Linked DNA regions of Homo sapiens: regions 1, 2, 3, 5 and 6 are each linked to region 4. The links are contacts of gene promoters, found by promoter capture Hi-C in blood cells and fetal thymus (Javierre and others, 2016). All regions are on one chromosome and are shown on one strand. Each heading gives the region's core, a stretch centred on a gene start or on the middle of the fragment in contact. The rest is flanking DNA. Distances are from core to core; before and after follow the strand shown.

What was found. Contacts are between HindIII fragments. The CHiCAGO score rates a contact against its expected background, and 5 or more counts as called.
Region 1: a contact is called between the fragment with the promoter of BMAL1 here and the fragment with the promoter of C11orf58 in region 4, in 4 of 17 cell types (total B cells, naive CD4 T cells, naive B cells and 1 more). The highest score is 6.9, in total B cells.
Region 2: a contact is called between a fragment that was not itself captured here and the fragment with the promoter of C11orf58 in region 4, in 1 of 17 cell types (total B cells). The highest score is 5.3, in total B cells.
Region 3: a contact is called between a fragment that was not itself captured here and the fragment with the promoter of C11orf58 in region 4, in 5 of 17 cell types (non-activated CD4 T cells, total CD8 T cells, activated CD4 T cells and 2 more). The highest score is 10.4, in non-activated CD4 T cells.
Region 5: a fragment that was not itself captured here is called in contact with the fragment with the promoter of C11orf58 in region 4 in 8 of 17 cell types (naive CD8 T cells, total CD8 T cells, total CD4 T cells and 5 more); the score reaches 15.3 in naive CD8 T cells.
Region 6: a contact is called between the fragment with the promoter of FAR1 here and the fragment with the promoter of C11orf58 in region 4, in 1 of 17 cell types (naive CD8 T cells). The highest score is 5.9, in naive CD8 T cells.

What each region holds. Positions count from the first base shown.
Region 1 is chr11:13,276,540-13,280,560 of GRCh38, forward strand. It overlaps BMAL1 (basic helix-loop-helix ARNT like 1), which reads left to right and starts at 1,251. Exons shown (of 20, transcript NM_001297719.2): 1 at 1,251-1,384. RefSeq lists silencers at 852-1,501, 1,572-1,641, 1,922-2,261. The HindIII fragment of the contact is 3,232 bases long and covers 1-2,711 here.
Region 2 is chr11:13,456,178-13,460,266 of GRCh38, forward strand. All of the region lies in intron 1 of BTBD10 (BTB domain containing 10), which reads right to left. Among named protein-coding and RNA genes, the nearest start is that of BTBD10, 5.0 kb to the right of the region's middle. The HindIII fragment of the contact is 7,206 bases long and covers 1-4,089 here.
Region 3 is chr11:20,357,010-20,361,356 of GRCh38, forward strand. No RefSeq gene overlaps it. Among named protein-coding and RNA genes, the nearest start is that of HTATIP2, 4.5 kb to the right of the region's middle. RefSeq lists an enhancer at 3,724-3,943. The HindIII fragment of the contact is 7,195 bases long and covers 1-4,347 here.
Region 4 is chr11:16,735,948-16,740,415 of GRCh38, forward strand. It overlaps C11orf58 (chromosome 11 open reading frame 58), which reads left to right and starts at 2,700. Exons shown (of 5, transcript NM_014267.6): 1 at 2,700-2,894. The coding sequence starts at 2,832. It also overlaps a transcript of SOX6 not described here. RefSeq lists an enhancer at 2,574-3,203. The HindIII fragment of the contact is 4,072 bases long and covers 1,609-4,468 here.
Region 5 is chr11:20,389,651-20,393,940 of GRCh38, forward strand. It overlaps PRMT3 (protein arginine methyltransferase 3), which reads left to right. Exons shown (of 16, transcript NM_005788.4): 3 at 94-176; 4 at 2,561-2,610; 5 at 3,247-3,349. Among named protein-coding and RNA genes, the nearest start is that of PRMT3, 4.1 kb to the left of the region's middle. The HindIII fragment of the contact is 1,671 bases long and covers 680-2,350 here.
Region 6 is chr11:13,666,874-13,670,848 of GRCh38, forward strand. FAR1 (fatty acyl-CoA reductase 1) reads left to right here and starts at 1,795. Exons shown (of 12, transcript NM_032228.6): 1 at 1,795-1,933. RefSeq lists silencers at 1,345-1,834, 1,945-2,224 and an enhancer at 2,305-2,354. The HindIII fragment of the contact is 7,046 bases long and covers 1-3,903 here.

The sequences.
Region 1 (4,021 bases), core at 1-2,500, 3.5 Mb before region 4:
CCAGTCTGGGTAACAGAATTAGGCCAATTTATTTAATTCCATTTGTTCATGTATCCAGCCAACAGATATTTATGGTGCACTTGTTGGGTGCCAGCCCCGCCCCCACCACTCCACCCTACCCCAGCAGGCGCTAAAGGAGAGCTGACATGATGGATAACGAAAAAGAAGACGCTGTCCTTCTATTCAGGGAGTTTAACATCTGGAAGAGCCGGGAGTTCTTTGTGCTAAAGGCCCTCTACAAAGTGCCTGAGATGCAAAAATAAGTCACTTTCTCTGTCCTCTCAGCAACCGAGTCGCATGTCGTTATCAAATTTTTATTTTCTGTAACTGTTTCCTTCCGTCTTGCTCCGTAGACAGCTTTTTGCAGCAGAGAGCGCTGCCGCGGGGCTGGTGTCTACTCTTCAGTAAGTGGTCAAAACCTGGCTACTGGAAGGAAATGCAATGGAATCGCTCCGCGCTCGAGTATTCTCTTTGGAACTACGGGAATGACAGCTCCAGTGGGACACTTGGAGGTCATGATGAACGCAAAGAACGTGAGAACACTTGCAGTCCTCGGGGTGGAAATGCCTTCTAGAAATACTAAGTATCCGTTCTCTCGTTGAGACTTTGGCAAACCAGGGATTTTAGGAAGGGTCTGGCACTCAACGTTCCTAAAATTGGTTTCCTAGATGGAGCCGGAGGGAGAGAGGGAGTCAGGAACTGCTGCTTTTCGTCGGAATGCCCGGAGGGGAGAAGAAGAAGGAGGAGGGGTGAGGGCGGGCGGCCAAACGCCAGCCGGCAGGGGACCCAGAGAAGAGGGACATCCCGGGCGACCCCGAGGAGCGCGGCTTGGGCACCGCAGTGGCCGCGGCTAGTGGGAGACCTGAGGGGAAAGGGAGAGGGCAGGGGCGAGGAACCCAGGGAGCGCGCGCGGATTGGTCCTCTCCTCGGGGCGTGCGCTCCTGTGCGCCAAATGATTGGTGGCAGGAAAGTAGCAGGTAAACCGGCTCCCGCCGCCTCGCCATTGGTCAGCGGCCTCTCTAGCCGCCACACAACTGGCCAGCGGGCTGCCGAGCCGCGCGCGGATTGGCTGGGGGCGGCCGCCGGGACCGGCTCCCTTCGGGCGTTCGGATTGGCTGGCGGGAAGAGGCAGGTATCCGGGCGCTGCGGCTCCTCCATTGGTGGGCGGGGAAGGGGGGTTGGGCACAGCGATTGGTGGGCGGGGGGCCGGGCCTGGGCCGGCGGGGAGCGGATTGGTCGGAAAGTAGGTTAGTGGTGCGACATTTAGGGAAGGCAGAAAGTAGGTCAGGGACGGAGGTGCCTGTTTACCCGCGCCGGACTCACCGCCGCCGCCGCCGCGGGATCCGAGTGCGGGCGCGGGCGCGGGCGCTCCCGGCGAGCCACGGTGAGTGTCAGGCCGGCGGCGGCCAGCGACGCGATCCCGCGCACCCCGTCGGGGGCCGTTAGCACCCTCGCGGGCGCTGCGCCCCTGCCGCCGCCCCGGGGGCAACCCGGCCGCCGAAGAACCCTGCCCGACGTGCCCGCTGCCGGCCTTAAAGGGCCCGTGACCGCTCCCTGCCCCCACCCGGGCCGTGGGGAGGCTGCGCCCCTTAAAGGCGCCGCGCCCGTCCGCCCCCATCCTCCTCGCGGGGGCTGCCGCTGCGGGCTAGGGCAGGCAGAGGTGCTGCAGGAGCCCTTAAAGGGGCCGGGAAAGTGTTCGCTGGAGTACCCACCGCCCTTCCGCGGGCATCGCTACCTGGCGGGGGGAGGGGGCAGCTAGCTGCCTCTTAAAGGGATAGCTCTGCCCTTGGGGGCAGTGACTCGGCCGAAGAGGACTCCTAGATGTGTCCCCGGGAGCTTCGGGGATCCCCGAGGGGACCATGCCTGGTGGCTGCCCCTCAAGGGCGTTGGGCGAACGGTGCCGCGTCTGCCCTTCCTCCCCGCTTCACTTCCCTTTCGGGAGCCCGCGAGGCTGGGTGGGGGCGGGGAGGGCGTCTCCGTCGGGCTTGGGGAGTCCAAGTCCGCCCGCCCCTTCGGCCCTGTAGCCAGGGCTGGCGCTGCACCCGGGAATCCCCGGCCGGCACGGGGCCGACCCCAGCCTGCGAACTTTCGTGGGGCCTGTGCCGTCCAGGTCCTGGGCGGCCCTCAAGGATGCCCCGTGGGTCTGCGGGCAGGTGCGCGTCGGCCTGGGGATGTCGCCCGGAGCCCGGGTGCGGGCCGGCCTTGGAGTCCCAGAGCTCCGCGGAGGGCGCAGCGAGCCTGGCTCCAGCTCCGGGTTTGACAGATGTCAGGGAAGAAAAGGTTCCCGCTCGGCTATTGCCGGGCGTTGACATCCCAGAGAGCTTCCCGTTTGCTTGGAAGAAGACGAGGAAGGTAGAGGTGAACGTCGACCTTGTGGGGCGCATGTTAGCCTCCCCGAGGGGTCGCGAGAGCCGGCAGCGGGGTGAGCTCAGGTGCCCGCCGGCAGGAGCTGGGGAGGGAAGGGGAGTGCTGGACACCGGCGCCTGCTGTCAAGTTCTCGCCGGCCGGTGAGAGACCCGCTGCCGCCGCGCACCCCGCACCTCCTGACCCCTCTCCCCTCTCCGCCTCGGCCCCTTCCCGGTCACCTAGCGTTGTTTTGGCGCTTTGGCGCTTGCGGTCTCTTCCTTCTTCCACCGCTACTCCTCAGCGAGGAATTATTAGCCAAGTTTTCTCACCCAGCTTCCAAAAATCAGATTCCGTATTTGTGAACAAGCTTTTCTTGACACTACCCGTATACCCGTATTTCCAGCATCGTCGTTTTATTAAACATCCATAAAAGCTGCCCCTTAGATGCATTCATTTCCCACGACACCTGCTTGCTTGTCATTTGTCCTTCTGACATCTGCTGTTGTTCACCCCTTTAATCTATTATTAAATGACAACTATTATTTTAATTCTTCTGGTCTCATTGATATCCGGATCTGTGAATTTGGGTTGGTGGAGTTTTTAATTAATGTACCCGTTGAATCATGAGCTTAAAATAATCATTGCTGCTCCTGAGCAGTTTTGAATAATATCATGCTCTCTCTGCTTGCAAGACTTAAAAAAATTCGCTGGTGTTATATTTGATTTCCATATCAATGGAATTCCCAAATATTTTTGAAAATACAAAATTCAGTCTTTCAGTCCATGTTTTGTTACTCAGATCATTTTACTGATAAGTCTTTAACGCAGCTTATAGAACATATTTAGAAGGTTTGGAAATTTCCTGGACAGGATTTGAAATTGCCTGTATCATCTGAAGCTGGTTCTGTAGAAGCATTTTGGTTTTGATTGTAGATGCAGCCAGTGAATGATAACAATAAGTTAAAACTGTAGTTAAATTTGTTCTTTATTCAACCCTCTGAAGAACGAACAGATCTGGTAGAAAAGCACTAACCTGGGAGTTAGGAGCTGGACATCCTGGTTCTAGTTTAGGCTTGGGCTCTCATGGCCGTTCCAGTCGGGGCAAGTTATTAAAGATTTCTAGGTTGTGTTTGCCTCTGATGGAAAGTAAGACGGTTGAACTAGGTGATCTCAAAGGTTCCTCTCTTTTGAAGTTCTGTAAGTCTCTAAATATTTAATACATTTGAATTCAGGTTGGTATTTACCTCCTGGCACCTCCAGAATATCTGAGCTGAAGCCCTATTTTCATAAGAAAGTTAAGCAGATCAACAGATGGTGTTTTGAAGAATCCATTTCAAATGATTTATAAAATGATGACTACTTACGAGTTTGTCTGCTATTTGCAGAAGAGGTTTGCATGCCACAGGGCAGGAAAAGGAAGTGGCCATGTTTTCAGATTTATCCCTTCACACCAACAATCTCTGTGGAATTTATATGCTAAAAGATGGAGAAGCACCATAGAAAGATTTGGCTGTATTAACAAAACTGCATATGAAAAGGTAAAAACTAGATAGTTAATATCTCTCTTTGGTGTAAGGGTTATAATGTATCTGAGCTTTCTTTGTGATTTCATCATCAACTCTCACTGTGGTAGGAAAATCAATATTAAATAAACAGTTTCAGCCCCGTGATTACA
Region 2 (4,089 bases), core at 664-3,163, 3.3 Mb before region 4:
AAGATCTTTGAATTAAGGTTCATTTCAATAATTGAAAGTCTGTGGTGCATGAATAGACAAACCAACCAATAGAAGAGAATTAAAGGCCCAGAAACAGAGCCCTAAAACATAAAGAACTTCAATATATGATGAAGTGATAGCTCAAGTCATCGAGAAAAGACAGACACTAATAAATGGTATTGGGACAACTGAATAAACATTCAGGAAAACATGAAACTGAATTCGTACCTCATACCACATACAAGGATATACTCCAAATGAAATCAACTATCTAAATGTAAAAACTGGAATCATACAAATACTAGAAAAATTATGGGTGATTTCACTGACAACCGGGAAGGAGAGAAAGCCTTTCCTATTTGCCTACGAAAAACACCACTACTTGCAAAAAGCACAGAAAAAAATAAAGTTTTAAAAACAAGTAATTTTTTTAAAAGGGCTAATTTCATAGTATATAAAGAGTTCCTTAAAGAAGGAAAGAAAAAGACAATTTCTCTTCTCCAAAACAGACAATGCACAAAGAAATGGGCAATCCTCAGAAAAATAAAGGCAAATGGCCTTAAACATAAAAATATGTTCAACCTCACTCATAAAAGAAATGCAAATTAACACCTCCAATTTTGGCCATATACTCTGTTGGTGAAGCTGTGGAGAAGCAGTCTCAATACTGGCATACACTGCCAATGAAAAGTACAAATGAGGGTCTGGCGCAGTGACTCACGCCTATAATCCTAGCATTTTGGGAAGCTGAGGTGGACAGATCACTTGAGCCTAGGAGTTTGAGACCAGCCTGGGCAACATGGTGAAACCCTATCTCTACTAAAAGATACAAAAATTAGCCAAGCATGGTGGCACATGCCTGTAGTCCCAGCTACTTGGGAGGCTGAGGTGGGAGGATCACTTAAGCCTGAGAGGTGAAGGCTGCAGTGAGCGGTGATCATGCCACTGCACTCCAGCCTAGGTGACAGAGTGAGACCCTGTCTCAAAAAAAATTAAATAAATAAATAAATAAAATAAAAAGAAAAACACAGATTATATAACCCTGGTAGAAAGGAATTCTGTAATATCCAACAATACTACACATACACTTACTAGTCCTACTTCAAAGATGATACAACTCCACTAATATTCCATAAAATATTTGTAAATATATTCACTGTGGCATTATTTGTAATGGTAAAAGACTAAAACAATCGGAATGTGCATCAAAAGGAGTTAACTGAATAAACTACATGCATCCACACAATAGAATAACGGATTAATATCCAAAATACATCGTTAGGTTAAACAGCAACAGCAAAAAACAGGTAGGTACAGAACAAGCAGTATTCATTGTACTACCTTTTGTAACATAAAGGGTAAACTTAAAAATATGTACATATATTCAAAGACAAATACACATGTATTTATTTTTGTAAAGAAAACAACTCAAAGTATAAAAAAGACATTAATCAAAATGGTTACCTATATGGGCAGAGTAGGACTGGGGTGAAGGTAATAGGGATGTAATCAAGACTTCTGAGTTCTCTTTCGATATACTTTAGATATTTGAACCACATAATGACTTACATACTCCAAATAAATTAATAAGGGGTGTATGTAATATTCATATGTGTATGTATGTATCTGTGTACACACATATATTTCTGACTGGAAGCAATTATCACTGAGTCATGGGATTATGGTACCATTTTCTTCTTTGCCCTTTGCTAAATGTTCCCAGTTGCATGTAATACCCATTACTTTTACAGTCAGAAAGAAATTACTCCAAATAAATCTATTTTTATAGGAAATTTTTCAAACTACTCATCATAAAACAGTTTCAAAATTAACAGCCATTCAAGCTGAGTGTGGCGGTATGTGCCTATAATCCCAACTACTTGGGAGGCTGGGGTGAGAGGATCACTTGAGCCCAGAAGTTCAAGGTCAGCCTGGACAACATAATGAGACTCCATCTCAAAAAAAAAAAAAAAAAAAAAAACTGTTCCAGTCTACTGTTAAATAATATCATTCACTAGGGAAGCAAAGATGATCAAAGATGCCATACCACTTTAAAATATGGCAGTTTTTCCTTTTCTTAATATGTTGAGTTCAAGTAACACGGACAGCTGTATATATGTATATTTATAAACAATGCACATATACTATCACACCAGTATTATGTATATAGTACACACACACACGAAATGGAAATTTAAAAAGGATACAGTAAAAAATAAATAGAAGTTCTATTGTTTTCTTCATACAGCACAATGAACAAGTTTTTCATATATCCCCAAAAGCACATGCAACCCACTAGGGGGAATCACTGGAACAAACTACTCCAAATCAGGAAACTTGTGGATTTGTATTCTAGTCTCAGCTGTCTTACTGCCTGCCAATATCTTTGATCAAAATCAGTTAAGGGGCTTGATTTGCACTTTAGTTTTCTCTTCCAAAAATTGGAGTATTAATGGTTTTAAAGTTACTTTCAGTATTATGGTTTCATAATCCCACCAGTCTCTCTAATAATTATTCTCTTTTAAAAGAGAAACTCCAACAATTTGGAAAACTAAGTAAGAAACAAGAATGTCTCGCAGTTAACCATCTTACAGGAGGTTATGGTCTTCTCTAAGAAAATTCTAAATGAACAAATGAATAGCTGAAAGAAACAGATCATATCGCTTGCTTTCTTGATGTGAGAAAAATCAAATTCAAGCCTGCATTGTATAAAATAAATTGTCTGAATGAAGTAATTACCTTTGAAACAATCCAGCACTATTTGTATGCCACCCAAAAACAAGAAAATCATAACAACGCTTGTACAATTTTGTACCTAAGATTCTCTGTCAGGTATCTGAGCATTAAAATTTATTTATTTATTTATTTTTTTATTTATTTATTTTTTTTTTTTTTTTGAGACGGAGTCTCGCTCTGTCGCCCAGGCTGGAGTGCAGTGGCGGGATCTCGGCTCACTGCAAGCTCCGCCTCCCGGGTTCACGCCATTCTCCTGCCTCAGCCTCCCAAGTAGCTGGGACTACAGGCGCCCGCCACTACGCCCGGCTAATTTTTTTTGTATTTTTAGTAGAGACGGGGTTTCACCGTTTTAGCCGGGATGGTCTCGATCTCCTGACCTCGTGATCCGCCCGCCTCGGCCTCCCAAAGTGCTGGGATTACAGGCGTGAGCCACCATGCCTGGCTGGCTGATTGCTACATTCTTTAGCAAACTAGGTCTCAGTTTCAAGGATCTCAAAGTAAACCCGAGCAAGATACACTAGGGGAAATGCAACATTGGCTTGAACCCTGATGAAGAATCTATTAAAAAGGGAGAAAAATTTTAATAGTTCTTTCTCCATTAACAGGAGAAGGTAACATCTGTATCTTCCTGACCCGCCTTACTTTCGGTTCAGAATCAACAAAAAATAAAGGATCCAAACAGATGATGGTAAAAATATAACTAAATCCAACGTGCAAAAACCCTTATTACTTCAACTGCAAATTAAACTTACCCAGTTAGAACTGTAGGCATTCCATTTCCTTCTCCCTCATAGTATTAGTAGTCCAGCCTGCTCAGATAAGCCTACCATACAAATGAATAGACAATGTATAGCCTAAGAATTGAGAGTCCCAAAAATTGAATCATAAGGCACTGAACAAAAGTATACTCAATCCCTTCCCTTAGCCTCCCCTGATCCTCCTTTGGGATGGCAACTCAGGGGATGGGAAGAAGCGGAAAGCTATTTCCAAAAAAGAACTTCCTACTTTATGAGTCATGGTAGAAACAAGTAAAGACGAAAATAATGGTTCCCCCTTCAACAAGCACAATCTTCTCAAATATAAAACAAATTCCTCAGAAGTAGTCTTATAACTCTTCAACAGGAGCACCTCACAAACATAATACATATCTCCTCTTCTTTCATTTCCTATTTCAGAGAGAGGCAGAGATTGAATGAACAGATATTAGCCTAGCTTGGCCTGAGATGACTGAGCTAAAATGAAGAAAAGAAAATCTGCAAATTCCCATAGCAGTCCTGATTAAAAACCAGTATTCTATGTAGTCTCTGCACAAGTTATGATAAATTTAGCCACAAAAGGCAGACCTCTTTTTAA
Region 3 (4,347 bases), core at 721-3,220, 3.6 Mb after region 4:
GTAGGCAGGGTGCTCTTTGCCAGTCAGTTCCTTGACATGTTTTCTAATTTTTTTTACCAGCCTCAACCCTTCCTTTTGTTGCCTGCATTAAAGAGTGTGTCTAAGATCCACTACTTGCACAAGTCTTGCTACATTCTTGGGGGTCATCCATAAAGTATGTTTGACTAGTTCACCTCTTACTCTCCTAGGTCTCATGCATAAGGTATGGTGAAATCTACCCCATGAAAACATTTTTCTTGAGCACCTACTAAGTGCCAAACACTGCCCCAAAGCTGGGGCTGTAGCAGTGAGATAGATGTGGTGGCTGACCTCACAGAGCAGAGTCTTCCTGTTTTGATAAATATTGTGCTTATCTAGTTGGACTTCACTGAGGTCACACAGCTACTAAGTGGATGGCCAGGATTCAAATCTACTTCCGTCTGACTGCAAAGTTGCTTTCTACCACATCATGTGTATCAGTTTGGGTCCTGGCAAGAAACAGAGAACATGTTCCAACAGAGTAACTGAGGGAGAATTTAGTGAAAGATTATTTACAAGGAAGCAGGAAGGGTTAAAGAAAACCCAACAAGGAATGGTGCTGTGTCTCAGTGCTAGCAATAGCGGGGAGCCATTTCTACTCCTAAGTCTAAAAGGTTGAGGCAAGGAGGTGGTTACTGGAACCTGGAGAGAGTGCCTGCAGCTGTCAGGGAGGCTATCAGACAGGAGTGAGGCTCTTGGGTCGAGGAATAGCAATCTCATAGCAGGAATTCAGGGGAATAAAGCCCCTAACCCCATACTCCTCCTCTGCTTCAATTTCCTACTGGTGACTCTTATCACCAAGGTAGGTGATAGGTCAAGGAGGACAAGGTAGACTGGGTGATGCAGGCCTTAGAGGTCAGCTGTGGAGTCACAGAAAAGGATACAGAGAGTGGAAAGTGGATCTGGAGGGGCAAATGAAAAATGTGCCTGTAATCCCAGTACTTGGGAGGCTGACACAGATAATTACTCGAGCTCAGGAGTTCAAGACCAGCCTGGGCAACATGACAAAACCCTGTTTCTGGAGAAAAAAAAAAAAAAGATGCGTGTCTGTAGTCTCAGCCACACGGGAGGCTGTGGGAGCTTGAACCCGGGAGGCAGAGGTTGCAATGAGCTGAGATCATGCCACTGCCCTACAGCCTGGGCGACAGAGCAAGATCATATCTCACAAAAGAAAGAAAAAAGAAAAATGCCCAACATACCAGTGTTTCCCAAACTTTACTCCTTCAGATACTATTTTCATGAGTTTACCATATCCTATGTTTACAATACACTCAGCTGTACTTAATATTTTATGAAAACGTCCTCTTTTTTTTTAAACTTTGTTAAATGTACTACTAGTAACAGGTACTAATAAATGTATTAATGGTAATTAAGGTAATATTTCACTACCTTGAATAGAAGAAAACCATAAAAAATAAATCTAATAAAATCAAGTTTGCTAAATTTTAAAACCTAAAATTTAACAATAATTATAAATGATAATGTATCTTATGATGTCCTTCACAGGCTGGTCCCTACCTGCCTCTCTAGTCTCCCCTCCCCTGCCCTGCCCCTGCCCCATGCTTCCATCTCTCCATTTCAAGCATATTGGTTTTTGGCCCTTCAAAACCAGCCATACTTCTACCTACCACAGTGCTTTTACATAGGTTATTCCTTTGGTATATATCAGTAAGAGGACATACCCATGAGTGCTAGGGAACCTGAAGAATTTAACAAATACAGTGCTATCAGCTAAAAACAAGAAGAATTATGCTTTCCTGAAAACATTCTAGAATTACACAGGTATTACTCATGATTTTGTCATTGATCTGGATATCCAGGTTCTTGTCCTGGCACCAAAGTTGAATCCCAAGATCTTAGATGATATATTTAATAAACGTGTGACTCAGTTTCTCCATCTATAAAAACAATTAGCTATCAAGAACACGATAGATACACTAAATCAACTACCTAAACTGTTGAATGCAATTCATGGTTGTATTTGTTATGTGAGAGCAGAAAATTACAATACTTTCTTTCAGACACCTACCTTTACCAAATCCAACCTCTTATGTGCCCAACCAGATATCTTAGTCATGCTACAGTTATTTAAAGCTCTCATTTGTTAAAAAAAAAAAAAAATTATCTAGCATTCATATTTACAAATAAATGAGATAAATGGGGAACAAGTATAGCCACTTTAGATGCTATTTAACATCCGTTCTGTTTTCTTTCTATAATAGTGACCTCTACTTTCCTTGGGGACCTTACTTCCTCCCCTACTCCCAGACATGTGGGAAGAGATAGCCCCACCCGGCTTCATTCCCAGAGCCACAGTGACAATCATAAGGTTTAATCAGAACTAAGGAGATACAGCTGGGGACTTCTGCTTACAGTTATGCTCTTTCTACTGGACTTGAATCTAGGGGGATGTACTTGATAGCTTCAATCATCCATTCTCCTCATTTATCTACCTTATTGTATGCCCTGAAGAAAACTGGTCTGCACAATATAAGTTCCCTCTAGCTTCTGGTTGAATTTAGACAATGAAGAGTATGAGCAAGAGCACAGCCTTTGGGTCATCTTGCAGGGTCTGAGAGTAAGGCCGACGTGAAGGGAAATAGAGCCATGGTTGGCAGAGGGACTGGGTCCTGGCCCCATTGGCTGACTGGCTGATTCTGGTCATGCCAAGACTATTATATACACTGATTCTTTAGTTGCATGAGCCAGGACATTTCCTTTTTTTTTTTCCTCAAAACATTTTGAGTTTGGGGCTTCAAACACGTGAAACAGAGTCTTAATGAAGGTATAACTAAAAATATAGCTCTGAAGTGAAGATGCATGGATCCCTGATCCTGAGGACTCTAAATCTGACCTAAATACAGTTCCAGTCTCCCTAAGGCCCCATCCTACAGCAGATCCTGTTTTGAGATTTCTCTGAGATTCTGTCTCTCTTATACATGATTTATAGCCTTACAATATTACAATATTCACCATCTTTACTCGCCATGAGTCAGTTTGTTCCTTGGAGCAAAGCGAATGTAATGAAACAGTTCCCATCTTACAGATAGGGAAATGGAGGCCAAGATATATGAAGAGACTTCATCAAAGGCAAACCTGAACGTGGCAGGCAGGTCTCTGGCCAAGGATCTTTCCATGCCAGCTCCGTTTCTTTATGTCCCCTTTCCCTCCTTCCCTATGCTTTCCCCTTCCCCTTTGCCCTGAATTTTTGTGGTCCGGTTGCTCTAGGAGCCTAGGTCTTGTCACATTATCTCAGCACTTGGATGACATGGTTCCAGCTGTCAGAGAAGGAAAGGCATGGACTTGTTTTTCTCTGAGTTTCCTTCTATTTCTGTATGCTCATTTGGCCTTCAGCATGTGCCACCCTGTGAAAGTTTGGGGGATGTTTTATAATGTTGCTTAACTTTATTTAGCTTCCCAAGTATTTATGACTTGCCTTCAAGATGAGAGTGAATTTAGCTGGTGTCCCTGATTCACCTTGGAAAAATCTATTGTGCCTAGCACAGTATCTGGCTTGCATTAGATAATCAGTAAATATCCATTGACAAGATTGACTAAAAGAATCTTACATTAGGCAAAATGCTGGCTAAGCTGCTGTAACAAAATTACAGTGGCTCCAACATGACAGAAGTTGATTTTTCTCTCACTCCCCAGAGGTGTGCCGGCAGTCCAGGGTGGGCAGGCGGCTCTGTTCTATGAAGTCATCCAAGGGCTCCTTGCCCTGCTATCCTCTAGAGAGTGTCTTTCTCCTCATGGTCAGAGCTGGTTTACCAGTACATTCACATTCTGGCCTAAGCAAAGGGGGAAAGGGAAAGTGAAGGGAAAGGGAAAGTGAAAGGAAAGAAGGTAACTTCCTTATAAAGATGTGATTCAAATGTGCACATATTACCTCTGCTTGCTTCTCGTTGGCTAAATCACTGTCACGTGCTCGTGCTAGCTTGCAAGTGTGTTGTGGGAAGTCAGGGACCCCGAATGGAGGGACTGCCTGGAGCTCCGGCAGAGGAACATAAATTGTGAAGATTTCATGGACACTTATCGGTTCCCAAATAATACTTTTATAATTTCTTATGCCTGTCTTTACTTTAATCTCTTAATCCTGTTATCTTCGTAAGCTGAGGATATACGTCACCTCAGGACCACTATGATAACTGTATTAACTGTACAAATTGATTGTAAAACGTGTGTTTGAACAATATGAAATCAGTGCACCTTGAAAAAGAACAGAATAACAGCAATTTTTAGGGGACAAGGGAAGACAACCAAAAGGTCTGATTGCCTGCAGGGTCATTATATTATATATATATATATATATATATATATATATATATA
Region 4 (4,468 bases), core at 1,450-3,949:
CTCGACAAACATCTGTGACTGCCCACTACATGCTAAATGTTGGGAAAATTTAAAAAAATGTAAAGTTCTCAGTGACAGGGCCTCCTCTCCTTGTCTTTACTACCCAAGAAAGAAGAACATTGCTGAGTTTCTAGGCCTCATATAAGATACCACTCTGGTACTATATAATTTCATCCTTCCTATATTAATTCAGAAACATTTATTAACTACCGTGTGGCAGGCATTGCGCCAGAAACAAAAATGCAGATGCAACAGTCCCAATTCTGAAGGAGGTATTTCATTGTTTCACTCATGATAGTGTATCTTTGTTTTTACAATACAAGAAAGAGGAGCATTACTGAGTTTCTGTGGCATATATGCATTCTATTACACTGTATAATTTCATCCTTACCTATAGCCTTCTGTATATGAAACTGAGTAAAATCTGATAAAATGTCCCAGTCTTTAGTATTTCCTATGTTACTTTTTCGTTTGTGATCTTGTTTCACAGTAACTTGAAGATTTACCATCCAGGTGCCAACAATTCTGGTGAAGAAATAAAAGACATGTTGCTAGCTCATTAAAGTTTTCTGGACTTTCACCAACTAGTAAAATTAAAATTATATAGTAACTACTATTCTTATTGACAATCCTTTCTTATTTCAGAAATCTTTTAGCAGTCTAAAGTACCTATTCAGCCATCTTATTTGTTTTGGTAATATAGCTAATAGTTCTAAATCACCATTTGTCAAACCCATTAGAGGTGAACTGTAGTCGAAACTGCAAAACTCTGTAACTTAAATGTAATTTCATTGTAACTAATAGAACCTAAGTAGAATTATGTAGTAGTGAAAATATTTTAATTCTAGCAAAAAGCAATCAACCACTTCCTAAAACAATGTTTCTTTTTTTTCTCTTGGGTTTACTCTCCTCCTCCTTTATGATTTATTCTTACCACAGAACCATTAAGATGTTCTTTGTTTGGTTATACTTATAAAATGTAACCCTGACATCTCTTTTTCTATTATAGTACTTACTATTATGCTATTTTTCTGCTTCCAAAATAAGGGAGAATTTGAATCTATGACTGCATAAATTTAAAAACTACCTTCCACTGGTCACAGTTCAGTGAGGATCTGAAATCTAGGTAAGTAATATTTGTACACAGGCAGTGAAACTAGAGCAATTGCTGAGTTCAAAAGCTAATAGCTAAGCATTGTTTCACAGACTGCTCTCAGTTCTGAAACAGCAGATATGTATTATCCATACCACTTATTATTTATTTATTTATTTATTTAGAGACCGAGTCTCGTTCTGTCACCCAGGCTGGAGTGCAGTGGCGCCATCTTGGGTCGCTGAAACCTCCGCCTCCCGGGTTCAAGCGATTCTCCTGCCTCAGCCTCCCGAGTAGCTGGGATTAGAGGCATGTGCCATCATGCCAGGCTAATTTTTGTATTTTTAGTAGAGACGTGGTTTCACCATGTTGATCAGGCTGGTCTCGAACTCCTGACCTCGTGATCCACCCGCCTCAGCCTCCCAAAATGCTGGGGATTACAGGCCTGAGCCATGGCGCCAGGCCTAATTTTTGCTTAAAAAAAAAAAAAATCACATTTGTATTCAAGGTGAGAAAGCTTCAGAATTATTAAGGACAAGGATTCTGACAGAAAGTTAAGTTCAGACCTGGTTACAAATTCAGACACCTTAATAAAGTAGGAGATAGTCTTCAGTATCTGAACAATAAATAGCTTTAAATGCAGGGCTTTTTGAGTAGAGGAGTGATCACTTGAATCTGGAGAGAGGGCGAGAAATGGGGAGGGATTGCTAACGGGCATTGGGGTTCCTTTTGGAGTGGTGAAACTTCTTGGAATCAGAGGTGACAGCTGCACACGATTGTGAATGTACTAAGTGACAGTGGATTGTACACTTTTTAAAAAATGGTTAATTTTATATGTGAATTTAACCTCAATAATTACTTTTTTTAAAAAAGAAAAAAAATAGAGGCTTTTGTGGCAGGGATGGACTTTGCTTGGTGAAGGCCCCTACTGTAACGGTGCCCAGACATCCACAGCGAGGTCAGTGAGGAGCACTCCCACCTCACACAAAGCCATATGAAAACTTAACAGATTTCCCTCAGCTAAATCCCCGTTTTCAACAACCGCCAATTAGCCAACATTTAACAACATACTGAACTCATTTCTGTATGGGAAAACAGCGAAATATTCATGAAAACATTTAGAAAGCAGCATCACCGACCACCTAGAAATCCCCTGCGCGCAATAGAGAACACCAGGGTGGAAATGGTAGAAGCCATTTTTGGTTAAGGTTTTTGTCCTGGGTGGAGGGTATTCGTGAGGATTCAGTCAGCCTCAAACATTACATTTAAACATAGGTGCCTAGCTACGATGATACATTTGCCAGTAGGGCAGCGTTGCACGGTGAAAGGCAAAAACCCCTCTAAGCCTCCTCCTGTGGCGACAAAGCTCTCGGCCAACGCTCACCGCCATACACATCCGCGGGAACGCTTCCTCCACCAGCCGAAGGCGGGGCCTCTGAGGGCACTCCCGCCACACAGCGCGAATTGAGCCTCGGGGCTTCCTGGGAATTGTAGTTTTAGTCACGGACACATCTTTTTTATTCGGGCCAGTATGCAATGAATCAGAAAACTACAACTCCCAAAGTGCCCCGGGGCGGCGAGGGGCCGCAACGGTGACGACTGTGGCAGAGAAGGCCCGGAGGGGCTCTGCGTTCTGTAGTGGCGCTGCTTGGGCCCTTGGCGGATTGTAAGCTGCTGGTTTTGCGGCTGGGAAGAGCGGCGAGAGGGTTCGGCATTTTTCGTCGGGATCCCCGCAAGGATGAGTGCTGCCAGAGAGTCTCACCCGCATGGGGTGAAGCGTTCAGCCTCCCCAGACGACGATGTAAATAATAATGGCGGAGTGGCTGAGGGTTGAGGCCTACTAAAGCCTGGAGTAGGCCGGGAAGGGTGGTTGGAGGAGGACGCGCCTGAGGTGGCCTGCAGCGGGAGAGCCCAGGGAAGAAACCAGAAGAATGAGTGGGAAATGCCTCCCTTAATCTTTATGAGGGTCAGAAGGTTTGAAGAGGCCCACACGCTGAGAGCCGGAGACCTGCGTAGGAAGGGGGATTGAGGAAGGAAATTCTGAGAGGGTCGAGGAGTGAAAGAGCTTAGTCAAGGGATTTCGTACGTGCGTTTTGGGGGGCCGATGAGAGTGCTTTCTCGGGCCTTTGTACTCAGTATAGAGACGGCAAGACTCTCCCTGTTTTGGGTTCTAAATGTTCCCGTGACAATGTCGAAATGTTCGTGCACGTTTGTACAGATTTTTCCTGCCTGGATGATTTTTACAATGTGCTGTTGAGAGTTAACTTTAGCTGCACTAGTAAGGGTAAACCGAGAACAGTATTGAGCCGAAAATTGTGCCACGGGTGTAATTTGGTACTGGCTCTGGTGGTGAGGTCTAAGACGTTGAGACCTAGAAGCCCATTTTGATGTCGGATATTAATACCTCGTTCTTCTTACCTCGTCTCCCCATCAAATGCCGTTCCCTTCCTCAGCCCTCACCTCATAGGTTTTAATAGCAAACGGTTTATCCCTTAAAGTAACCCGTTAAATATTTACTGCACTGCCGGGTGTTGGGAATTCGGAGAGAAATATGATGCTTATTTTAGGCCTTTTTGTATATTTGTCCTAGCTCCTAGCCCAGTGTCATGGAAACGGTAGGTAACCAGTAAACGTAAAACTAGGTCCTTCATACAATGGATAAGTGTCTTGGCAACGTTGATGGGGAAAATTGTTGGAGAGAGCGCGGAGAGGTCATCTTTAAGGAAGATGAAGGGATATCTAGGTTTTTTTTCGGTTTTGTTTAAAGTACTGTCAATTTCTGAATACATAGAGCTTTAAATTTTTCGATAGTGCATTTCAACGCTCTTCATAAAATTTTAAAAGCCCACTGAATACTACTTTGTAGCAAATGAGATAATGTTAAGACCTACCCCTCTGATGGGAGGTGGGGCGAGGACCGGAATATTAAGGATCTTTAAAGGAATCGACTTCAGCTCTGCAGAAAGATTAGCAATCAGTAAAGATTTGGGGATGAATGGGCACCTAGAGAAGTTTATTCTTGCTCTCTGTTATTTCTGCTACTGGATTTTAGATCTTGTTAATATGGTAATTCAGGTTTTGTCAGGAATTGATCCACACTTTTGAGTAACCTGGCTGCCACTTAAAAAGCTGTTACATTGTTTTCCTCCTGATCTTTAAATGTGACTTGATTGCTAGGATATCAGACACCTGTTTGGAAATATCTTTTAGCGTGACAGAAAACTCCAGGTGATATGAAATTTAACAAAGTTAAAGGGATTAAGTCATTAAGTTTACAGCTTCGGAAGAGGTCGGTTTAAACTAGACGACCTTGAAGACCTTTCCCAATCATATAAGCGTATCTTTAAGTACCTGGGTTTTGTTTTTGTTTTGAGA
Region 5 (4,290 bases), core at 265-2,764, 3.7 Mb after region 4:
GTTAAAAAAAAAAAAAAAGTGTATATGTAACATGAAATCAGTATTTAGACTTCTTAGGGGACTATTCCATGAAGCTATTGCTTGATTTTTCAGGTTATTCACATCTGCTGAAGAAACATTTTCACACTGTAAGTCTGAGCATCAGTTTAATATTGACAGCATGGTTCATAAACATGGTGAGTAGTTTTTAGAATAAAGGCAATTTAATTTGTGAAATTTGGGCAGGCATGGCAGCTCACACCTGTAATCCCAGCACTTTGGGAGGCTGAGGTGGGTGGATCACTTTAGGTCGGGAGTTCAAGACCAGCCTGGCCAACATGCTGAAACCCCACCTGTACTAAAATACAAAAGTTATCTGGGTGTGGTGACGCACACCTGTAATAGCAGCTGCTCAGAAGACTGAGGCAGGTGAATTGCTTAAACCTGGGAGGCAGAGGTGGCAGTGAGCTGAGATGGTATCACTGCACTCCAGCCTGGGCAACAGAGTGAGACTCTTCTCAAAAAAAAAAAAAATCTGTGAAATATAAGTTCAGATTTTATAGTTTTTCAGACCCTTTTCTGTACGAGTTTAATATGGCGAATCACACAGCAACATCTTGTGGAAATGGAGTTTTTTTGACAAGCGGTCCTTGAGAAAAGATGAATAAGTCACTCTTCTAGACAAGATTCACTGTATTTAAGCTTATATTAGCTTTTCAACTAAAAACAAAAACAGACTTGGCATGTGATTACATTTTTACATTTTATGTGATTACATATTAGATTTAGGGAGAGCAAGTGTAGATGTAGGACTTGAAAAAGGACGCAGGTCATTTGAAAAAAGACAATCAGCTCAAAGCATGACATGAACTTCACAGCCTACGAGACTGAGTTTTATACAAAGTTCGGTAGAGACTGGAAAAAGAGTGATGAAGTTAAGATTAATATGCAAAATACTCAGGTGATGTTTCTATTGAAACTTTTATTTAAACACACTTGCCTTACAATTAAGGCCTTCCACTTTAAATGGATGTAGAAGAGCTATACTACAATAAAATTAACTAAATAGGCCAGGTGCTGTGGCTCACGCCTGTGATTCCAACACTTTGGGAGGCCAAGGCAGGTGGATCACAAGGTCAAGAGATTGAGACCATCCTGGCTAACCCAGTGAAAACCTTTGGGAGGCCAAGGCGGATGGATCACAAGGTCAGGAGATCGAGACCATCCTGGCTAACCCAGTGAAAACCCAACTCTACTAAAAATACAAAAAATTAGTCGGGCATGGTGGCATGTGCCTGTAGTCCCAGCTACTTGGGAGGCTGAGGCAGGAGAATTACTTGAACCCGGGAGGCGGAGGTTGCAGTGAGCTAAGATCATGCCACTGCACTACAGCCTGGGTGACAGACTGAGACGCCGTCTCAAAAAAAAAAAAATAATAGGTTTTTTGGTCCCTATATTTGTTGACAACTAAGAAGGGACATTACTGAAGAATAGCAAATACTAACAGGTGTTTCAGTGTCAGATAAATACGTGATATCACATGTTTATAAATCATAAATTCAACTGCAAGTACTTTCGTAAGGCATAAATGACAGCCTCATTTTTTAATGTTTTTTGTTTTTGTTTTTTTTTTGAGACGGAGTCTCGCTCTTGTTGCCCAGGCTGGAGTGCAATGGCACGATCTCGGCTCACTGCAACCTCCGCCTCCCGGGTTCAAGTGATTCTCCTGCCTCAGCCTCCCAAGTAGCTGGGATTATAGGCATGCGCCACCACACTGGCTAATTTTGTATTTTAGGAGAGACAGGGTTTCTCCATGTTGGTCAGGCTGGTCTGGAACTCCCGACCTCAGGTGATCCGCCTGCCTTGGCCTCCCAAAGTGCTGGGGTTACAGGCATGAGCCACTGTGCCCAGCCTTAATGTTTTTAATGTTGCATTTCTAAAGTATTAGAATCATACTTAAGATAGAATTTTGTTTTGTTTTTTTTTTACTTACCGATATAGGGGGTTTGTATACTATTAAAGTTTTCTCATAACAAGAGTTTTATGACAAATAATTGGTTGGTTGGATGTATTACTGCTTTCCTTTGTTTTAAATGCTGCTTCATTTCTGGAAAGATACGAGAACCAGATAACAAGCCTTATTGGGCTTGCATCATTTAACTTCATGTAAAAGCTAGTATACACCATGTCCTGGCAAAATTATAATTTGATACACACCATAAAAATTAGGGATTTAATACTTTCAGCTCTGATATCAGTTGCCAAATACTTGGTAAAATGTGGATCTTAATTTTCCAGATTTGTATTGTTCTGACAAAGGAGGAGTAGAATTTTAGAAATCAGTTTTCCATCTTTTTAGAAATACTAGAAAAGCTTTAATTTGTCATTTATGGCTGCTTCTCAAGATATTCAGAAGTATCATTGTATTACTACTTCTAATTCTTAATAAAATTCAAAATATAAGTAGTAATTTAGAGGTCAGAATTATTTTATTGTTTAATCAGAGAAGGCTTTATAGAATAGGTCAGTTAAACAAAACTCATTATGTTAACATAGGTGAATTATCTTTTTCCCCCTTTAGGACTTGAATTTTATGGATACATTAAGCTAATAAATTTTATTAGACTTAAGGTAAGTTGACAGCTTAATTTATAATTTCGTTTAGAAATCAAAGAAATGCTACAGTGACTGTCAGTGTACTGATTATTTAAAAGAATATGAGGAACTGCATTAAATTTGGTACTCATCATATTGGGGGAATCACGGACATTAGGAGGTAGCACAGCAGAAAGCACCATGTAAATGTCTACCATAACTAACAAATATTGTTTTCACTGCATCTAAGAGATGAATCGGTGTATGTGAAAAAGTAATTCAGTGTCAAATAAAGGGAAATACTGATGGACAGGATCTGTAAAATCAGAAATAATTTCTAATGTGATTTTAAGTATTTTGGTTGCTCTTTTTTATTCTGTTTTTTTTCAGATACTTTGTTTTTTTTTTTTTTTGTCCTGTTTAAATGAATGTTTAATGACATGACAACGCTTTCCCCAAATCCAAACAGTAAAAAAAACTCTGCGTTGAAACTGCTGGTTAAGCAGTCGTCCAGCAAGTTAATGAAATGACAGGCACGTAGACTTTTTGGAGACATACTGACTTTGTGTAATGCAAACATGATTTCCTTTTTGTTTAATTTCTGTAGTTTTTACTAAGGGGATTTTGTGATTATATGTAATGAAAAAAACATGAGATTAATTTTATATCCAGAATCCTACAGTTGAGTACATGAATTCCATATACAACCCAGTGCCTTGGGAGAAAGAAGAGTATTTGAAGCCAGTATTAGAAGATGACCTTTTACTTCAATTTGGTAAGATGAACATAAGTGTATCTCCTTTAATTAACATAAGGCCGTTTGTTAACGGCAAAATGGAGGTAGAGTGTTTTAGGAAAAGACATGCTTTTTAAAATTATCTAAATGCTTCATCAGGTAGTTAGTTTCAGTAGAAAAGTTAAGTTGCTTAAAAACTAATAGTCGGCCAGGTGTGGCGGCTCACGCCTGTAATCCCAACACTTTGGGAGGCTAAAAGGGCAGATCACGAGGTCAGGAGATCCAGACCATCATGGCTAACACAGTGAAACCCCATCTCTACTAAAAATACAAAAAATTAGCCGGGCATGGTGGCGGGCTTCTGTAGTCCCATCTACTCGGGAGGTTGAGGCAGGAGAATCACTTGAACCTGGTATACAGGTGACAGAGCAAGACTCTGTCTAAAAAAACTAAAAACTCTGTGATCAAAAGATTGTCTGGTTTTGCCTTTAATTGCTTCATGTATTTTGGAGCTCTTATGTGAGGTTTATACACATTTATAATTGTTATATTTTACTGAAAAATTGGTCAGCCTTTGCAGTAATTCTTCTCTGCCCGAAAGAAGTATCCAGGTGATTTGAACATCCTGAGACAGAAGGTAGATGTAGATGTTCATCTTTCTGAATATGGTTTAGGCCTTTGAATTAGACTGTTCTAGCAAATTGTAGTTAGGAATCTTAATATTTACTGAATCCTCTTTTTTTCAAATCTCTAAGTTTAATCTTTAATATATAATTATCTGCATATTCTTAACATTAAAAAGTTTTTATTATGACTAATTTTTATTGCAGCAGAAAGCAAAACAGAAACTGGCCAAACAGTTTGAAGAATTTTGAAATCAAAATACAAAATGAGGTTTGTAGTAGGAAGTAGAAAATACAGTATACCAGCCTTATATAGTTTGGAAATATTTTGTTGTGCTGATTAATTTTTGGTGAATT
Region 6 (3,975 bases), core at 545-3,044, 3.1 Mb before region 4:
ACACATGTTCTAACATGCTCCTGAATCCCCCATGCTGGGTTACATCCTCTTTCTAGGTATTCCCTCATCCTGTATTACACTGGCATTGTTTATGTCTGTCTCTCCATTAAACCCTATGTTCTGTGGAATACTGTCATATCCAAGTTTATATGCCTAGTGTAGTGACAAGCACTTTAAATAAAGGCATTTACCTGATTTAAACAACTTAATGACTAAATTAATAAATATGAATACTGTAATCTTTGTTTTGTTGCTTGTGTTCTTTTACAGATTAGAATTTGGTCCATAGTTCTTACGTTTGTTTTGGGAGAATATTTTGACCCACTTCTAAGAAGTGTTTCACCTGATCCTGGCTATTTATGACTATGGCTATTGGACTGGATGGGTTCCAGGCATACACTGTCTTGCCTAAAGTAGCGGAATGCGACATCCCTGAGGGTAAGCAAGTGTGTTAGCTTTGTGTTCTGTGCCCTCCTCCAGAAATGACAGTACTTGCTGCAAGACTGTGAGCTCATCGAGGCAGAAGCCATGGCATTCAAATTAGTTTCCTGAGCCAGAACTTAACATCTGCCACAAAGTAGGCAGTTCAGTGAGCTTTTGTAGTTTCCAACTGGATGCAGCACTATGACTGCTTTTAGCTACTAACAGGGCCAGGCACTGAAACAAGCTCTAAATCCCCACAGAAAAATCACTCTGAGCCATCCATCCCTAAATACCAACCTGTGCATGCTATTCACCGTGCCAAGAGCGTTCACTCATTTTTGCTTCTCACAAATCTTTTTTTTTCTTCCTATGGCTTGCATGTTTTGAATGACAGCTAAATCCTAATGCGGACTGTTTATACAATGGAGTCCCACGGAGCCCAAAGATTGTGGTAATATTATTACAGAATTCTCATGATCCTTTTATTATTTTTTAAAAATGAGCCGTATGAATGTGGTAATACTATTAAGTGTCCGGCTCGATGAATTCCTCCATGTGTACACAGCCCGGAACGACCACCAGGATCAAGACGCAATGTTTCCAGCTTTCCATAGGTTCCCTCGTGCCCCACCCCTCAGAAGTAAACGTTATTCTAACTCCTATCACTACCGGTAAGTTTTGTAGGGAATTATTTTGGAGGAAGTGGAAGGTGGAATGAATGGGCCCACAGTCCCCTGGGACTGGGCGAGACCCGTGGAGGCTCCAGGGGTCCGTAGAGCTCTTCGCTCTCACCGACCCGGGCCACACCCGCCAAGCTGGTAGTTCTCCGAACGGATCCCTCACGCCCAGCAATGGCCGGAGGGCCCCCGGGCCCCACCATAATAGCGCTAAGCACGCCACAATGGCAGCCCCGCTGTCTCCCGCGCGGGCCTCGCTGCGTGCTCCCAACCTTGGGAGTTGGCGCCCCTCCCGCGCGACGGACAGCCGGGCGTGGCCCTGGGCGCGACCCGACAGGACGCCAGCAGCCGGCGGGGGCGCTCCAGGACTCGAGATGTGGGGCGCGGGCCCATTGGCTGAGCATTCCCCCGCGAGCCTCCCGGCCGCAGGGCCCACCTCCCGGCCCTCTCTCCGCGCCCCCATTGGCCGTTCGCGTTCCGCGGGCGTCCGCTCCCGCCCCACTCCCGCCCGGAGGGAAACCGGGTTGGGGGTGAGAGGCTAAAGCAGGGAGGAGGATGACTGGTCCTGCGGATAAGGGTGTGCGCGAGAGCCAATCAAAAGCGGATGTCGAAAAGAGGCGCCGCTCCAGCCAGTCACGTCGCGAGGTGCGGTCGGGGCCGGCTGACGCGACTGCGGGCCTCAGCCAATGGGCGTGCCACTGCCCGTCCGCTCTTCAGCAGCCGGTCGCGGGCGGTGGAAAAGCGAGTGAAGAGAGCGCGACGGCGGCGGCGGCGGCGGCGCAGCTATTGCTGGACGGCCAGTGGGAGAGCGAGGCCTGAGCCTCTGCGTCTAGGTGAGAAGGGGGTGCGCCAGCGGGAGCGGCCGGGCTGCGGGCTCCTCCTCGCCTGGCTCGGGAAGTGGTTGCGGGAGCTCGGGCTGCAGGCCTGGCCGAGGCGGGGGCGCCGACCAGCCGTCCCGCCCCCGCCCCCGCCCGGGTACGCCCAGAAGTGAGGGCGCCCGCCTCACCCCGGGTGGTCTCTGCCCCTCTTTGCCCCGCCGCCGCCCTTCACAGGGCCGGGACCGCGTGGGGGACGTACGGTGGGGCCTGGTTTGCAGCCGCGGAGCCCGGGGAGCCGCCTGGGGTGGGAGGCCGCTAGAGGTGGCGAAGGTGGGGCGGGGTGGTTAGCCGAGCAGCGGGCTCCGCGTGCTCGCGGGAGGGTAGCGGCAAAGGGAGGCCTAGTGATTGCAGGATTCCGGGTCTGGGGAGGAAGAAAGTGGTGGGAAATAGGTGATGCTCAGAAAAGGGTGCTGAGGGAGAAGGCGCGGGGCCGGGGAGTGTGGTTGGCCTATTAGAAGTAAGGATTGATAGGGCCTGGGTGGAGATCAGCTGGGAGTGAAGGGGGGACGGGCTTGGGTTTTGAAGGTGAAGGTCTCTGGAGAACTGGGGACACGTGGATCTGGAGTAAGAGGCACCTACTGAAACCGGAAGGTGGCTGAGAAGGTTTTATGTGAGGTGTGGACGGGAGGCTATTGGACTAGAAGGCATTAGTTGGTCTGTTAGGACAAAGTATACAAGCAGCAAACGCGGTAGATTTATGTGTGGTAGGTGAAGGCTGTGAATCTTTTATGAGTAGTTGAGCAAGAACAGTTGTCTGATTCTGCGGTGTCGGAGAGTGGAGGGTCTCAGGTAGTGTCTTGGTCAGGTTTGAAGGTTAATTTACTGCTAGTGGAGGGCCAAATACTCAAAAGAGTTTTTAATTCTCACTACTGGGGCTGATCCTCCTCCTACACTCCACCCCTCCTGCCATCCCTGTGACAGTTCATCTCGTTTTGCCTCAGCAGCACAAGAACTCACTCCCTCCGAAGTAATGGCATACATATTGTTTGCTTTTGACTAGATGGCAGTCAGGAATCCCTTAATTCTTTATGTTAAAAAAAAAAGTGTTGGTTTAAAGACAACATCAGAAGATACTCTCAGAAAATCTGCCCTCCAGGGGAGTTTCTCAGCTGTCATGTTGGGCATGTGTAATATAGCATAAAAATGATGCAAGATCTCTTACAGTAATACAAGTGAGAATTAACGTATAAGTACAATCCTGATGTATTTTTTTCAAATTAATTTAAAAAGTAAACAGAGACAGGGTTTGCTGTCGCCCAGGCTGGAGTGCAGTGGCGAGATCATAGCTCGTTCCAGCCTCAAACTCCTCGGCCCAAGAGATCTTTCCACCGTGGCCTCTCAAAGGCTTGGGATTACAGGGGTGAGCCACCCCACCCAGGCCCTGTTATTCCATACATTTTCCATAAAATTATTTTATAATTTTTGTTTTGTTTTGTTTTTATTTTATAAATTTGTGTGTGTGTGTCTCGCTTTGTTGCCCAGGCTGGAGTGCAGTGACGCGATCTTGGCTCGCTGCAACCTCCACCTCCCAGGTTCAAGTGATCAGCTCTTGCCTCAGCCTCTCGAGTAGTTGGGACTACAGAGACATGCCCCACCGCACCGGCTAATTTTTGTATTTTTAGTAGAGGCGGGGTTTCACCATATTGGCCAGGCTGGTCTCGAACCCCTGACTTCAAGAGATCCATCCGCCTCGGCCTCCCAAAGTGCTGGGATTACAGGCGTTAGCTGCCGCGCCGGCCAAAATTATTCCATAAATTTATCCATAAAAATTCCACATAAATTTTCTGGAGTTTGATTATGTATTAGGCTTGTTGGGAAATTTATTACCCTTGTGAAGAATTTTGTAGCTAAGTAGCTTGAGGGTTTTTTTTTTTTTTTCACTCAGGAAAGACATGGTATGTATGCATCACTGCTATTCTATTTGAAGCTTTTGGAATTTTTATTTATGGGGTGTGGATAGAGGCTGGAGGCAGAGACTGAGGTCAGAGAAGAGGTAG